2 separate regions of the Homo sapiens genome follow, and region 1 is linked to region 2. The links are contacts of gene promoters, found by promoter capture Hi-C in human tissues and cell types (Jung and others, 2019). All regions are on one chromosome and are shown on one strand. Each heading gives the region's core, a stretch centred on a gene start or on the middle of the fragment in contact. The rest is flanking DNA. Distances are from core to core; before and after follow the strand shown.

Region 1 (5,429 bases), core at 2,216-4,715, 1.2 Mb after region 2:
CTTGTACAGTATAGAGACCCCTGGATTTTGCACAGAGAATGTCTAGCTGGCAAGTGCTGTCTCAGAGAAAAAAGACAGTGAAAGCTGAGCCTCACGTGGTGTCCTCAAAGCCCTATGATTCCCTATAGCCAACAAGGAGGCCAAGCACTGTTGAGTTAATGTAACTCTTCCCTTATAAAACAAGAGAATACAATTCTGTTATTGTATTCATCTTGTAGTAAACTGCTCCTTTTTCAGAGTGTAAATGACCAGGGGGATATTTTGGGGGAAATAAGCTTTCACTCTGGTGAGTCAATAAAGGGAGGGGCCCCATCATTAAGTCTTCAAGGGGCACAAAGAGACCCTGGTAAAAACGTCTAACATTTAGGTTTGGGCCCTCTTCTTAAAAGATGTAGTCTTGGATTTGGGAGTAGGCAGAATCAGGTGGGACAATCATGTCCCCATAATATCAGTGATGCAACAATAATACTTTAGCAAATGCTAATACTAGCTGCATTTTTTGACGACATAAGCTAGCATTATTCTTGAGCATTTACTATTTGCCAGGTGCAGTACTAAGCATTTTACTGGCATTATCTCATTGAATCTCCCCCAACATCATGCCAAGACAGACTTGAATATTGGCTTCATGGCCGAGCATGGTGGCTCATGCCTGTAATCCCAGCAATTTGGGAGGCTAAGGTGGGAAAAAGATCACTTGAGCCCAGGAGTTTGAGACCAGACTGGGCAACAAAGTGATACCTCATCTTTACAAAAAAATCAAATCAAATCAAATATTAGTCAAGCGTGGTGGTGCACACCTGTAGTTCCAGATACTCAGGAGGCTGAGGCGGGAGGAGAACTTAGGCCCAGAAGGTCGATGTTGCAGTGAGCTATGATTCTACCACTGCACTCTAGCCTGGGTGACAGAGTGAGACCCTGTCTCTAAAATATATATATATATATATATATATATATATATATATATATGCTTCATGAAAACAGAGAATTTCGTCTATTTTGCTCTTTGTGTCTCAAAGCACCTGGAAAGGTGCCTGGTTTCATTTGTCAGTCGATAGTTGATATTCAATAATTTTGTCAAATGAACTTGCTGACTCGGCACTATCTCCTTTGTACAGATAAATCGAGGATTAAGTAACTTGCCTGCAGCTAAGAAGTGATAAAGCAATGATATGCATCAGGTAGTCAAATTCCAAAGACTACAATCTTAACCACAGCCTTATTTTTGAAGTTTTCAGGAAAACAAAAATGATCAGAGAATGGAAAATGTTTTGGGAAAACATTGCATCTACAGGGCCTTTCTGGCCCCAATCTTCCACGGCTTTAGAACTGGTCCCATGTCTTCATGCCATTGGCAATGCCCTCAGGATGGTGAGGAGAGGAGCAAATGCACCACTCAATACTCACTTGTTTACACAAGATATAGTGAATGACTAAAGGGAAAATTGCTGATCTTATCAATGATTCGCTCAAGTAATCAATAGAACAAGTTTGCTCAATATTAAGCATCATGGGAAACTTTTTATATTCAGAATAAAAATGGAGACTATTGAAGATTTGGCTGGTGACTAAATTGTAGATACCAAGGAAGAAAGAAATGTAGATGAACAAGTGAATGCTGGTTCTAAATGACCATTTCCTTTGAATATTAAGTCCACTGTGACTGAACCATATAGATCAGTGGTCATTTCACTCTCCCAGGAAACCCTCGTTCACACTTAATTAACAAGTTATGCAATCTCCTTTGTAACAACAACCAAAAAGGACTTCAAGAAATATTTATAAAATAGGCACTTTTATAAACTTGTGTCTAAAGTAATCTGGTAGCCGAGAATTTCATGTGCTGAAATGTAACTGTCAAAAAAAAAAAAGGAAAAAAAAAAACCTCCCACCGTAATTTTAGGTAGCTTCATTCAAATGACAAGTCTCTAGGAATGTTTTAGGGAATTAGTGAATTTGAGTGAATATCAGACTCTCCTATTAGAAATCATTGATATTGTTGGATTTTATTATTTTCTTTTCTGTATTATTCTGATCTCTCAGATGCAAGTAACAAAAACTTGACAAACAAATGTAAACAAATATGGAGATTTTTGTTCACATAACTGAAAAGTTTAGGTTATCTGGCTTCAGAGAAGGATATATCCCAGTGTTCACATGACGCCATTAGGATTCAATATCTCTTGCCCCATCTCTTGGTTCTGCTTTCCCATGTACTGGCTTCATTCTCAGGCTGAACCCCTTAAAATGCTGGTCCTCTCAAAGCTCCAAGCTTACATCAGCCTTATAGCTCATACTTTCCATTTCAACAAAAGCCCAGGATGTAGTATCATTGGCCTGTCTTGAGTAACATGACCATCCATCTCTGAATGAGGACCATAACTAGACTGATAAATACAGTTACCTGCTCTAGAAACTCAACCTGCTAAAAGATGTGTTTGACATCATAGATTATACAGAGGTTTGTAAATCTGATTTAGATCATTGCATGACACCCCAGAAAGAAAATCTTTTTGATAGATATTATAAAATGAAACTCTCCTTGGTCATAACCCACCATCACTTTGCTGGTCTAGACTAGATTGCTTCCTTTCACAGCTATAGGATTGGCTTCTATAAACTTTTCTCCTCCTCCGGAAACTAGTGAGGGGTGCTTGTAGAGTCTTAGTGATCACAGATAACAAGACAAGAATAAGGGGAAGAGACAGGTGACTGGAAGATGAGGCATTCCCAATTGCTACATCATTGTGTATTCAGAAATCTTTAAACCTTATAGTGTAGAGGTTTATAATACAGGCTGAGAAATAAGACAGACTAGTATTTGTGTGCCAACTTTATTTTCTAAGATAAACCAGTTAACCAAATCAATAAAATGAAGATACTAGTATCTGCCCCATTAATAATAGCTACTCCAAGTAGGTGTGCCTAACTGTTGGCCAGAGTAGCTATCACTGTCACCCAACCCACCTAGTATTCTACCTTCATGGCCAGCACCCTCTCTCTTTTCCATGAGTCATAGGTTTCTCAAAATGAAGAGGTTCCTCTTTCTAACTTCTAGACTTTATTCTCACAGCACTCCCCAGTCTGATTAAATAAATTCTCAGGCAACCCATGTTCAAATCCTTCCTCTTTCACTTATTAGTTGGGTGACCTTGAGCAAGATGATCACTCTAAGCCTCAATCTTCTCATCTGTAAAATGGGGTTATTCACAGTAACCTCTCAAGAAGGTAGTGTAGCTTAAATTAGGTCGTATCTTTAAATTATTTAGAACACAATAGATGTCAAATAAATTTTATTCGTATTTATCAATTGCTTGCAAACTATGTGCTAGTTCTTGTTTTAAGCACTTTGAGAGTTTTAATTTATTTAATCCTATTATTTAAGATTTACCCTATCATTATGTTTATCTTAAAGACCAAAAAAGAAAGCTTCGAGAGGTTACCTGAGGTTACACTGCTGGTACATGGTAGGAGTGAGATTTAAATCCATTAATTTACTCACTCCATTATCTCCTCCCCTACCTACCTCTTACTGTAAAAAGATGAACTTATAGTCAGAACTGAATGGAGAATGTGATACCATGCCCTATCTCCTTGTGAGGCTTAAGTCCATTCTACTACTCATCAGTATATTTGCCCAGGGAGGTATTTAATTATGGACAAAGGCAACATTTAGTCTAAGAAGTCCCTATTATCTTTCATGCCTTGCTGCAAGCAGTAAAGATGCAGATACCACCATCTCACTGAAGCTTTATGGCTTCTCAGTGAGGAAGGCAACATGGAACCCCCAGTGTTACTTAGCCAGAATGTGGAAAACCCTATGATTTGAATCCAGGACTCTCTGTCCTCAAAGAGTTTGCTTTTTATGACCATGCCATACCATCGTGGAATGCAACGAAGAATGCTGAGAATACAGAGTAAATGTTTTCAGTGTCTCTGTGATATATGTTTTGTGAACCCATGTCAAATTCTTAGCTAAGTGAATACCTCTACTTATTTTTTTCTAACTCACATTGATTGAGCATTTACCATGATCCAGGCAGAAGCTGTATGAACCTTGGGCAAGAGATCACTTTTGACCTCTCCTGCCTGACTTTTGGACATTACCTAGGTTATTTCAGCTTGCTGTAACTCCTACCAGCCTTGCTGTGATGGGATACATTGGTTTGACTTTAGGATATGTTGTTAAAGTCATCAATTATCCCTGTTGGAAAACCTAAGGTTCATGTATCAAGTTTCCATGAAAAAAGAATTGAAGAGTAAAAAGCAATAAAAGGGGTAAAAGCATTGTGGGCTTACTTTCCTCATGGTGGTCATTTTGTTGGAATCATAAGCCTTATTGCAAAATGGATGAGAAAGGTGATGACTAATATCTTAGTTTATTCAGACTACTATAACAAAATATTGTAAACAGTAATTTTTTAAGCCACACAAGTTCATTTCTCATAGTTCTAGAGGCTGGGAAATCCAAGATCAAGGTGCAGCATATCTGGTGTCTGGTGAAGGCTCGCTTCTGCTTCCAAGATGATGCCTTGTTTCTGTGTTCTCACATGGCAGCAGATGGAAGGGCAAAAATTATGAATGCTATGTGAAGCCTCATTTATAAGGCCATGAAACCCATTTACAAAGGAGAATTCCTTATGATCTAATCAACTGCAAACATCCCTACCTCTTAATCCTATTGCATTTGGGATTAAGTTTCCACATGACTTGTGGAGAGACACAAACATTGAAAACATAACAGTTAGCTTAACCAGGTAGTTTAACACATGGTCCTCATCCTCTTACACTTTAGGTAACTTATTAGGCTTGAAAAAAAGTCAATGTTTCCATGAATTTGAAAATTAACCTAGCTCGTACTGGATTAAAAAATTACAAATTAGACCCAGTTAGAAGATAAATATTGTGCCAATCAAATTTGACCAACATTAATGAGTTATGTCTGTCAATGCAACAATTGCAAAATGCTTTTTCCCCCCTACTCTTTTTTTTCTGATATTTATTTGTATTTTTTAGTCTACTTGGACAACAGCATGTAAATTTGGGGAAAAGAGTCAATTAAAGCTTGCCAGCACAAATGCTTACAATTTACTAACTTCCCCCATGACCCTGCGTAGCATTATTCTAAAGTTTCTCTCTGTTGCAATTTGGGCTCTATTGTCTCTGAAATGACCCCCCTGGCTGAGAAGACCATCAAGAATATGCAGCATCTCAACCATCTCCCGCCCAGAGACGAGCCTGATTAATCCCGATTGAGTCTATGGAAAGCACACAAATATAAACTATTCATTTATTTCAAATCGGTGGGTGCCGTGGGGGAAGTTATCACATATAATCTAGTGTTAGTCTATCCACTGCATCATAAAAATTAATTTGTCTAATTAATGACATTAGTACTTTTATACATGCATAATTCATATTAATTGATA
Region 2 (5,615 bases), core at 2,243-4,742:
TTCTGCCTGGCAGATCAATGCATAACCTTTGTTTATGTGTGTTTCTGTTTAAAGATACCTTATAGGCCAGGTGCTGTGGCTTGAGCCTGTAATCCTAGCACTTTGGAGGCCAAAGTGGGTGATCACCTGAGGTCGGGAGCTCGAGACCAGCCTGGGCAACATGGTGAAACCTCGTCTCTACTAAAAATACAAAAATTAGCTGGGCGTGGTGGCATGTGCCTGTAGTACCAGCTACATGGGAGGCTGAGGCAGGAGAATCGCTTGAACTCCAGAGGTGGAGACTGCAGTGAGCTGACATCGTGCCACTGCACTCCAGCCTGGGAGACAGAGTGAGACTCCATCTCAAAAAAACAAAAACAAAGACAAAAGACACCTTATTTGATATATATTGTTGATATATATACATATTATTCATTAACACTGAACTCAGCCAACTGCACTATAACTCATGCCTGAACGAAGCTTACCTAACAGACAAGCTTTCTCTGTAAGGCACATCGCAGCCTTCTCATACTTAGGAACACTAGACAGCACGTCAACTGTACACTTGGGGCCATTTCAAACAGCGACATCACAAACAAAAACACACAAACATGCAAAAAATGTGGCACTAAGTACACCACAAAAGGGACACTTGTTTATAGCACAAGAGCTGAAACCAGAAAGCAGCGTGTCCTCCTGTTTGCCCTTGGCTGGAAATGTGCACGTTGGGTGACTCAACTTTTTCACTATTCTACGTGCATCCATATATGACTGTGAAAGTGTCATGGATATTGATTTGGAAGTTACGCAGACATTATTTTTCTTTTTTCTTTCTTTTTTTTTTTTGAGATGGAGTTTCGCTGTTGTTGCCCAGGCTGGAGTACAATGGCGTGATCTTGGCTCACTGCAACTTCCACCTCCCAGGTTCAAGCAATTCTCCTGCCTCAGCCTCCCAAGCAGCTGGGATTACGGGCTCTTGCCACCACGCCCAGCTAATTTTTTGAATTTTTAGTAGAGACGGGGTTTTGCCATGTTGGCCAGGCTGGTCTCGAACTCTTGACCTCAGGTATCCACCCACCTCGGCCTCCCAAAGTGCTGGGATTACAGGCATGAGCCACTGCACCCGGCCTTTTTTCCTCTTTTTTTTTTTAAATGAGCCAAGGTCTCTCTATGCTGTCCAGGCTGGTCTCAAACTCCTTAGCTCAAGTGATTAGGCTGGTGTCAAACTCCTAAATTCAAACTCCTAACCTCACACCTCAGTCTCCCAAAGTGCTGGGATTACAGGTGTGAGCCACCACACCCGGCCACAAACATATTTTTTTAAAAATTCTTTAATTATATAATTTTTAAAATAAAGATATAGGGTCTTACTGTGTTACCCAGGCTGATCTGGAACTCCTAGCCTCAAGTAATCTTTCTGCCTCAGCTTCCCAAAGTACTGGGATTATATGCATGAGCCACCATGCCTGGCCACAAACAAATTTTTTTTAAGAATTATTCAATGTGTATAATTTTTAAGCAAACAGGGCCTTGCTCTGTTGCACAGGCTGATCTGAAACTCCTAGCCTCAAGCGATCCTCCTGCCTCAGCCTCTCAAAGTGCTGGGATTACAGGGAAGAATTTGCAAATTTAGAACTTGTGAATAATGAGAATCTACTGCACTTTCTTCCTGTTTCTCTCATTCGGGGCTGGCTGAATTCTGTCTTACTCATATTTTATCTCTAGCATCTGGAAAACTGCCTGGCCCACAGTAGGCTCTCAATAATAAATGTATTTCCAATGAGCGAATGAGTCAATTCAGTGGAAGTGCTCAGCTCACAGCAGTGATAGCTAGTGTTTGTGAAGACACACCACGCGCCTGCCCCGTGCACGCTGTCCTGGTCAACAAGGGAAACAGCAGAGTATTGTTCTTTTGCACCTGAGCTCAAGAGCAGACTGCCTGGGTTCAAATATGGGACATGCTTCTTATTAATTAATTATATAACTTCGAGCAAGATCATTGGCCTCTCTGAGCCTCAGTTTCCTTGGCTATCAAATGCAGTATTCATAGTTCTACCGTGGAAGTTATGGTCAGGAGTCTAACTTGGCCCTGCACAGAAAGCCTCTAGCATAGGGTGAACCCTTAGTAAACAGTAGCTTTTATTGTGAATAATTCCCAAGGCAACCCGATTTTCACACCCATTTTGCAGATACAAAAACTGAAGCTGAGGATGGTTCAGTGAGTTTCCAAGGTCACAAAGGAAGGGCTGCCTATGGGGGGGAATCTATGCCCATGTTAGTAACACTGCTGTTATATAAACATAAGGGGTCAGCGGGGCGCAGCGGCTCATGCCTATAATCCCAGCACTTTGGGAGGCCGAGGCTGGAGAATGGCTTGAGCCTAGGAGTTTGAGACCATCCTGGGGAATATAGTGAGGCCCTATCTCTATAAAACAAACAAACATAAGGGCTCATTTTTACTAGTTGTAAAAGGGCCCTTTTACTAGTTGTAAAAAAGGCTCGTTATAAGGCCTCTCACTGCCTAATCAGCTAGGTTTGCCAAAATGAGGAAGACAGCTCCAGCCAGTCTCCTGATCTTCTCTGGGATCAGGGTGGGGAGGAACCCCCTTCCTACCCATAAACCCCTAAGAGTCTTCGCTCACATTCCACACTGGTGTCTTTCTGTTCCTTGTCCACTTTCGAGTTCAACCCTTTCAGAACCAGCCCTACTGTGGGGGGTGGGGGATGGTTAGTTTGTTATCTTGGGTTTGACAGTACAAAGGCAGAGGCATTTCCTGCTTAAAAGGCACATGAGAAAGGAGGAGGAGGGCGAACTGGAGGAATAGGAGGAGGAGGGAATCATCAGCATTCTGGGTTAGAACAAACAAATGTCCTCCGTTTTTCTCCAACTCCTTAGATCAAGGGTCCTCAAATTTGGCTGCCAGCTGGAATCTCTTGCAAACATTTTAATACCCAGATGTCCAGTCCCCCACCCAGACCAATCACATCTGAGTCTCTGGGGGGGGGCGGGGGTGGAACTAGGGCATCGGTATTTTTTTAATGCTTCCCAAGCAACGCCAACGGGCAGACAAGTTTAAGAAGTGGTGCTCTGGACCTTATCAGCACTCGGCTGCCACCCTGGAGTGGCTCTGGGCGACAGTGGCTGCTTTCCGCTTCGAGGACGCCCGGCTTGGGGATTCGGGCATGCTCTGGGAGGCGAGGGCTGGGGAGGATGCGAGCGTGCCAGCGACCTGGTGCTCTGCCTTGCTCTAGGCCCAGCTCCGAGGCTGCGGGTCTCTGGGTCCCCCCCACGGCTACAACACGTGCTGCCGCCCCGACTCCTCCGGTTATCTCTGCAGACCGCAAGCGGTGCCCAGCGGCCGCCCCGCTGTCCACCCCGACCTCAGAGGCTCCAGGGAGACGCCCGGGGCTCAGGAATCCTACCTTGGCTGCCGGCGCTGCCCTCCAGTCCCCGGAATCCTGGGACTCAGGTTCGAGCTGTCGCTGTCGCTGTCGCTGCGCCTGTGAAGCGCCCACTAGAGCGCAGGCGCCACCTAGTGGGCGCGGGGCGGCTGCGCAGGGACCGCGCTGGCAGGCGGGAGCGCAGTCCAGGGCGGAAATGCAGCCAGGGCTTCTTCCCACGTGGGCGGTTTTCCAGCGCGCCGCCAGCCCTGTGGCCAGATCCGGCCTGGGGCGGGACCACCTTCACCCGCTGCGGGGCACTGGGATCTAAACTTGGTGAACTTTCTCTTGGGGCACGGAGGGACCCCTCGGCCTGGTATCCATCCTCCGGTTTTCCGGGCTGAGCACAAGGATCTTTCCCTTCATCCAGCAGCTTTCAGTGCACCCCACCTTTGGCACTGCTTCTCTTTTAAATGTGCTGGGACCATCCGAGGCTGGGGTTCTCTCCAACCCAGGGAGGCCCTTCGCCTATCAGCAACCATTTTTTCCTGCCACCCCCTAAACCGTCCCTGAATGAGAGAAACAGCCTGCTCTGCTGGCTTGCTCTACAGAGGCCAGGACTGGTGGAGGATGGGTGTGTGCCAGCGACCTCGTGCTCTGCTCTGCTGGAAGGCCTTCTCTGAGCAGTGGAAGGGGAAGGGGCGGCTTAAGGGAATTGTGTTTTTTGTTTTTTGTTTTGTTTTGTTTTGTTTTTGTAGAGACAAGGTCTCTCTATGTTGCCCTGGTGGCTCTTGAACTCCTGGTCTCAAGCGATCCTCTCACCTGCAGCCTCCCAAAGCACTGGGATTACCGGAGTAAACTATGGCTCCCAGCTGCCTGGTATTCTTTCAATGAAGACATGCCAAAACGCTTACAAATATGGTGGACATTTAATGGTTTATATTTCATTTATGTCTTCATTTAACAACGATTAACTGAGCACCTACTATGTGCCACTTTTCTACAATCAAGGGATACAATGAAGAACAAAACACAAAAATCTCTGCTTTTGTTGAATTCACATTTAATGTAACACATGAATACTTTTAACACACCCAACGATCTAATGCAAAGCGATTGAGCTCGTTGTGAGATAAGTAGAGGATTTATTAAAAATATCTATATTTAGGGCCAGGCACCGTAGCTCACGCCTGTAATCCCAGCACTTTGGAAGGCTGAGGCAAGAGGATCGCTTGAGGTCAGGAGTTTGAGACCAGCCTAGCCAACATGGCAAAACCCAGTCTCTACAAAAAATACAAAAATTAGCCGGGCGTGGTGGCAGGAGCCTGTAATCCCAACTACTCCAAGGCTGAGGTGGGAGAATCCCTTGAACCCGGAAGGAGGAGGTTGCAGTGAGCTGAGATCGCACCACTGCACTCCAGCCTGGGTGACAGAGTGAGACTCTGCCTCAAAATCAATCAATCAATCAATCAATCAATCTATGTTTAGGGCGCCAAGGGCAGACATTCCTGGTGATGGATATAAGCATTACAGAGTTCTATGGGAACGTCTTCACGTTTTCTTGTAATCCTGGCAGTTTATCTCTGTGGCAACATTTGGAGATAATGCCTTCAGTGGAAATTTCAGGTGATTTGTGAAAGTTAGGCCTGCAATCCTCCTTTCCCCCTCCCCCCGGCCCCCACTCTGCTCCCCCAGGACGCTCTGTCATTGTTCTAGCCCAGTGTGAGTTTGTGTGTGAGTGTGTGCCTATTTAACCTTTGGACTCTCTGTACTGGTGTAATCTGGTCAAAGTGAATATCAAGGGCAGAGGAGGACAAGGAGGAGCAGGAGGAGAAGGAGGATGAGGAGCAGGAGGAGGAGCAGGAGGAGGAGGAGCAGGAGAAAGGAGGAGAAGCAGGAGCAGGAGGAAGAGGAGCAGGAGAAGAAGGAGCAGAAGGAGGAGGAGCAGGAGGAGGAGAAGGAGGAGGAGCAGGTGGAGGAGGAGGAGCAGGAGGAGGAGAAGCAGGAGGAGCAGAAGGAGAGGAGGAGCAGGAAGAGGAGGAGAAAGAGCAGGAGGAAGAAGAGGAGGAGAAGCAGGAGGAGGAGGAGGAAGAGCAGGAGGAGGAGGAAGAGCAGGAGGAGGAGCAGGAGGAGGAGGAGAAGGAGCAGGAGGAAGAGGAGGAGAAGCAGGAGCAGGGGGAGGAGGAGGAGGCAGAGCAGGAGGAGGAGCAGGAGGAGGAGGAGGAGGTGTCATCTGTGGACAATACCTGGAA

Evidence for each region. The method cuts DNA at HindIII sites, captures the fragments that hold promoters and counts their contacts. A contact is called where the count stands out against the background at its distance.
Region 1: a fragment that was not itself captured here is called in contact with the fragment with the promoter of CHD9 in region 2 in 1 of the 25 tissues and cell types used here (mesendoderm cells).

What each region holds. Positions count from the first base shown.
Region 1 is chr16:51,901,202-51,906,630 of GRCh38, reverse strand. No RefSeq gene overlaps it. Among named protein-coding and RNA genes, the nearest start is that of LINC01571, 140 kb to the right of the region's middle. The HindIII fragment of the contact is 4,381 bases long and covers 1,275-5,429 here.
Region 2 is chr16:53,052,868-53,058,482 of GRCh38, reverse strand. It overlaps CHD9 (chromodomain helicase DNA binding protein 9), which reads right to left and starts at 3,492. Exons shown (of 39, transcript NM_001308319.2): 1 at 3,406-3,492. It overlaps CHD9NB (CHD9 neighbor), which reads left to right and starts at 5,586. Exons shown (of 3, transcript NM_001396020.1): 1 at 5,586-5,615. RefSeq lists enhancers at 405-454, 3,105-3,154, 2,667-3,198. The HindIII fragment of the contact is 13,928 bases long and covers 1-5,615 here.